Regions from separate parts of the Homo sapiens genome. Here region 2 is linked to region 1. The links are contacts of gene promoters, found by promoter capture Hi-C in blood cells and fetal thymus (Javierre and others, 2016). All regions are on one chromosome and are shown on one strand. The core of a region is centred on a gene start or on the middle of the fragment in contact, and the rest is flanking DNA. Distances in the headings are between cores, read along the strand shown. Region 1 holds the start of COL18A1 (collagen type XVIII alpha 1 chain). Region 2 overlaps ADARB1 (adenosine deaminase RNA specific B1).

Region 1 (2,743 bases), core at 146-2,645:
GTTTTGCAGAAGTGTGCGATGACCACTTCTACTCTATGCTGTTCTCCTTAATCTTTTTATTTTTAAAAAATGTGGGTCATAATCCTTTACATTGATTTCCTTCCTCACAGTGCACCGCAAGCACTCAGGGAAGGACTCCAGGTTTGAAGGCAGATGCTGGTCGGGACCCGACCAGGTGGCTGGGCGGGAAGAGGTGAGATCGGGCAGGATTGGGCCTGGGAAGGCTGAGGCAGGCAGGGATGATGCCAGCAGAGGAGAATCCCAAGCAGGCCCCGCGGCTGCGGCTGGAGAGCTCCAGGGGCGGAGAGGAGGTGGGAGGCAGCAGTCAGGTTGGGAGGACCCTGGCAAGCAAGCCCAGAGAGGAGGGCCGGGAGGGCCGGGCACTAGAAGTGTGAAGTCACTGCTGCCTCCTGGGGCTGCTTCAGAGGATGGGTGGGGCCACGTGTGGGGAGATCAGGGAGACTGGAGACTACGCTGTTTGGTCCAGGCATAGGAGATGAGCCCTGGCCGGGAAGGGACAGTGTGGATGGGCCAGGCGGAATCAGAGGGTTTCAGAGAAAGCCGTCAAGCCAGTGCCATGAGTTTCGCGCACACGAGGAGGGAGCAGGCTGGGGGGTGTTGCTGGTGTGAGGGCTCTCTGGTTGCAGGGAGCGGTCCGGTCGGGTGGGGGCACAGCTGCCAGGAGGAAAGCGCCCAGGGCCTGCAGGTGGGGCTCAGGATGCTGGCCCTGAAGAAATAGAAACAGGGTTTTCACCTGGGAGGGAGGAGGAGCCTGGGAACTGGGGAGGAAGAGGCTCTGCTGGGCCGCGCCCTGGGAACAGGGGGACCTGGGGACAGATCTGGCCCTCGCACGCCCCTCCTGTCTCGCGTCCGTCCCTCCGTGCAGCCGGGGCAGGACCCTGCAGGGGCCTTGCGGGCCGGAGGTGCCGGCTTCCTCCTCCGTCCCGTCCCCCCCGCGGTGACTCTATTCAAATCTCCCCCCTTCCCGCTGCCCCACCGGACTCAGGGGCTGGGGTCGTAGCCCGGCGGGCAGCGGTGTTCACCTTCCGCATAAACCTGGGCTTCCTCGCGGGGCAGCCCCCGGGCCCTGTGCTGGGTCGCAGCCTCGGGCGGTTCCCTCGGGGCGGGACGTGTCCCCGTCCGTCCTCGCCCGTCCCCGCCGCCCCCGGGTCCCGGCCCGCCCCGTCCTCGCAGCCGCAGGTCCGCTGCGGCGCCCGCCCCCCTCTCCCCTCCCCGGGCCTTGCCCTGCTCGTCGCTCCGCCCCCTGCCCGGCCCCTGCCCGGCCCCGCCCCGCGCCCGCCCCCTGCCCGCGCCCGCCCCGCCCCCTGCCCGGCCCCTGCCCGGCCCCTGCCCGCCCCCTGCCCGGCCTCCCAGCGGCGGCGGCTGCAGCGCGGCGGTCCGAGCGGGTGCACCGCGGCGGAGGAGGCAGCATCCCGCGGCGCTGACGGTCCTGGGGAGAGCATGGCGCCGAGGTGAGGCCGGGGCTGCGGGCAGGGGTTGGGGGACGCCAAGATGCGGCTGCGGGGGTCGCGGGGGTCGCGGGGCTCGGCCGGGTCCTGCGGGGGTCGCGGGGGTCCTGCGGGGTCTGACCCGTGCCTGTCCCGCGCAGGTGCCCCTGGCCATGGCCGCGGCGGCGGCGCCTCCTGGACGTGCTCGCGCCCCTGGTCCTGCTGCTCGGGGTCCGCGCGGCCTCCGCGGAGCCAGGTAAGACCCGGGCGGGACGGGAAGGTTCGCGCCGGTGCCCGCCGGCCTCGCCGCCCTGGCTGGGGTCCCCGCCCGGCTCCCTCACCCCCGCCCCGGCCGCTCTGGGTTCAGCCCCGGCCCTGCCCACGCGCGCAGGAGGCGCCGGAGCCGGACGGAGCGGGGCGGGGTGGCCGGAGTCCCGCCCATTCATTCTCCCCGCGGGGTCCGGGCCGGGAGGGGTGCGCGGTGCGAGCGGCCGGAGTCCCCGCGCGGGGACCGAACCTCCGCGGCCGGCGGGGTCGTCGGTGCCGGGAGGGCTCGGGGCGGGGCCGCGGGGTCTCGGGAGACGCGGCCTCTGTCGCCGTCACGGCCTCGTCCCCGCAGCGCCGGGTCCCGGGACTGACCGCGGGCGGAAGGCGGCGGAGCGCGGGGCGTCGTCTCCGCGTTTCCAACCTGTTGAGGCTCCTCGCCGCGGGCCGGGCCTTGTGCGCCTCTGTCCCCGCCGCCCTCAGGCCTCTGTCCCCGCGCCCGCCGTGGTGTCGGGTTGCGCGGTCCCCTTTGATGCCAACCGAGCGCCGCGCGGTCCGAGAACAATGCCCAGAAGCCGCTGCCCCGCCGGCCTCGCCGCTTCCCGTGCGCGGCAAACGGTGCGCGGGGCCCGTGGGGACCTTCCTGCCTCCAACCCCGGGACCCAGTTCCCCACCACCTGCTAACCGGGGCCTCCTGCCTCCAGCCAGCCCAGCAGAGGCCCGGGGGAGGCGGCGGGGACGCGGACCCCAGGGGAGCCCCGCCCAAAGGGCCTGGGTGCCTTGTCGCGGGTGGAATCCCACCCGGGGGTCCACGCAGCCAGCGCCTGCCTCCGACTCGACTCCACACCTGCTTGCTACAGCGGGTGAGGAAGCAGGAAAGGGGGAGGGAGGGATGTCGTCTGGATTCCTGTAATAATTTGTTTCATTGTTTCCAATCGACTTAGTCACCAGGTTAAATAGTAGCATAGACCTTTCAAAAAAGTAGCTAGCTTATAAGTAGATGTATTGAAAACACCTGCTTGTTGAGTCGT
Region 2 (2,743 bases), core at 122-2,621, 260 kb before region 1:
CCGCCCCTGGCAGCCCATGCCTTGTAGCTTCTGGGTGGCTCCTGGCTTGGTTGCTGTGGTGTGGAGCGTTGAGTGACCTCTGCAGAACAGCAGATGGTGCTGTAGGGCCGCTTCTAAGACTCAGTGGAGGAGGCTCAGTGGCGTTCTGAGCGGTGGCCACCAGGACAAACCTCTTGTCTTTACACCATCTGTGTGTGTGTGCGTGAGTGTATGTGTGTGTGCATTCCAGTGTGCGTCCAGAAGCCAGTTTCCTTCAGAAAGCTTTCTGTTCCCTGGCTTCATTTTTACCATTTAGAGGACCTGTGAAGCAATGAGATGGAATACTTATAGCTGGTTTAATTCAGTGAGTGATCTGAATTGTAAATAAAATTTTATCAAGTAATTTATAAATTTGATATAATAAATTAAGTCTGCGGAAGGGGCTGATTGTGTTATGGAATGAGAAGTTTTGTACATCTTTTGCAATTCTAAAAATTGTGGCCAGGTGTGGTGCTCAAGCCTATAATCCTAGAACTTTGGGAGGCTGAGACAGGAGGATTGCTTAAGCCCAGGAGTTTGAGACCAGTCTGGGTAACATGGTGAACCCCTGTCTGTACAAAAAATAAAAGTAAAAATAAATTAGCCAGGCATGGTGGCACATGCCTGTAGTCCCAGCTACTCGAGAGGCTGAGGTGGGAGAATTGCTTGATCCCAGGAGACGGGTGGCAATGAGCCAAGATTGTGCCAATGCACTCCAGCCTGGGCGACAGAGCGAGACCCTGTCTCAAAAAAAAAAGTTGTGACTTTGCTGTGTAGTCTTTGTGTAACATAATTTTATGATTCTATTGTTTTAAGCTTAATATTCCAAATAGGTAATAATTATGTTAAAATGCAAAAAATTAGCCTATACTCTCATGATCTAAATATGTAGTAGTGGTTTTACAGAATATATTTCAAAGGATTGCCATTCTGTTTTATTTTTAGTAGCCAGTTATAGAAAGCATTATTTTTAAATAATGCCTAAGAATCTTTAAAGAAATACCTGTCAATGTATGTTCCAGTTTAGTATCAAATTTATATTCAGAGCTCATAAGAATTTAAAAAGTTTCCCAGAGTCTGTAAATGGGGATGGAGCTGTCCTTCAAGGGTGATAGTCCCCCTAGGTTTGAGTTGTCCTCTGCTGCTAGCATAGTACCACCTGAGCTACCTGTGGGCCACCTTCACCACCCGTGGGTCCCTCCAGCCACCCCAGGGACACCTTAGCCTCCCTGGGTCGCCTTAGCCACCCCTGGGCCATGTTAGCCACCACAGGATCACCTTAGCATCCCTGGGTCACCTTAGCCACCCCAGGGTCACCTTAGCATCCCTGGGTCGCCTTAGCCACGCCTGGGCCATGTTAACTACCACAGGATCACCTTAGCATCCCTGGGTCGCCTTAGCCACCCCAGGGTCTCCTTAGCCATCCCAGGGCCACCTTAGCCACCTGTGGGTTACCTCAGCCACCAGTGAGTCACCTTAGCTACCCCAGGATCACCTTAGCCATTTGTGGGTCACCTTACCCACCCTTTCACCTTAGTCACTCATGGTCAGCTTAGCTGTTTGTGGGTCACTTAGCCACCCCTGGGCCACTGTAGCCACCTCTGGGTGTCCTTAGCCACCCCCGGGCCACCTTGGCCACTCTGGGTCACCTTGTCTACCCCTGGGTTACCTGAGCCACCCTTGGTCACTGTCTGTGGGTGCTTGCTTGCTTTAAGCCACATTATGCTACTGCAGCTAATTAAGGTCGCTCAATTCAAGTGTCTCCTTTTTTTGGGCTCCTGCCTTCTTTTTGTTTTTCAAATCGAACACCCGCTATACTCATTTGAGAAGTGTAGACTTTGATTTTTAACCCTAAGTTGCATGGTAAAGTCACCTTTAAAGCCAATGGAAAAAGCTTAATTGAATTCATTTGTTTGAAGAAGTAGAGGAATGTTGCAAGTAGACTGAAAGTTATACTTAGTCTGTTCTGTTTGAAACCATTCTCATTCAGAAAACAGAAATGTGTTTATGTAAAGAAATATGTTACTTGACTTAATATTGTAAGGAATCTTAATTGAGAAAATAAGTAGTTGTGTTTTTTCTTTAACTGGGCAGCATTGTAGCGGGGTGGAGTGTGGGTCCCCAGGTTGGAGAGCTCTGGATTTGGAGTGGATCCTAGCACATGGCCACCATGTGACCTTGGGCAGTGACTCAGCCCAGCTGGCTGCCAGGCTGCTCCCCATGAGGTGGTGGGAGCCGTGTGGGATCTGCCTACTGGGTGTGCAGCTGCTGCGGCCTAAGCGGCGTCCTTGCTTGGTCCCCCCATGAACTCAGGGGTGTGGCCTGGCTCCGTCATGTGTTTTGCAGGGGGATCTGAGGGGCCCAGAAGGTAAGAAATTGCCTACGGCCCTTGGCTAATAGAAGAGGGAGCAGGGCTTTGACCAGGGGGACCAGCTAGTGACTCTGTGCTGGTTACTACTTTACCAACACCATGGCCATGCTGCACAGCTGTGCAGCCTCCACCCACAAAGGCCAAAGCTCCAATGGCATCTGCGATGCTTGTAAAACAAGTAGCAGCCGTGTCCAGCCTGCTGCTCTGAAACCTCAGTCTCCTTTACTGAGATTTGATGATGTTTAAATGAGCAAATGCATGTGTAGTGATTGGCAGGTGGCCATCGCTCAGCCGACTTTTCCTGTGCCCTCTGCTTCGGCAGGTGCCCTTCCTGGCTCCCTGCTTCTTCCTCTC

The links. Contacts are between HindIII fragments. The CHiCAGO score rates a contact against its expected background, and 5 or more counts as called.
Region 2: a contact is called between a fragment that was not itself captured here and the fragment with the promoter of COL18A1 in region 1, in 4 of 17 cell types (endothelial precursors, erythroblasts, megakaryocytes and 1 more). The highest score is 7.1, in endothelial precursors.

Annotation. Positions count from the first base shown.
Region 1 is chr21:45,403,770-45,406,512 of GRCh38, forward strand. It overlaps COL18A1 (collagen type XVIII alpha 1 chain), which reads left to right and starts at 1,396. Exons shown (of 42, transcript NM_001379500.1): 1 at 1,396-1,472; 2 at 1,610-1,704. The coding sequence starts at 1,462. BNAT1 (breast cancer associated ESR1 regulating natural antisense transcript 1) reads right to left here and starts at 2,593. Exons shown (of 2, transcript NR_183526.1): 1 at 2,398-2,593; 2 at 37-727. RefSeq lists an enhancer at 551-1,251. The HindIII fragment of the contact is 21,482 bases long and covers 1-2,743 here.
Region 2 is chr21:45,140,431-45,143,173 of GRCh38, forward strand. The region is part of intron 2 of ADARB1 (adenosine deaminase RNA specific B1); the gene reads left to right. Among named protein-coding and RNA genes, the nearest start is that of ADARB1, 67 kb to the left of the region's middle. The HindIII fragment of the contact is 1,078 bases long and covers 833-1,910 here.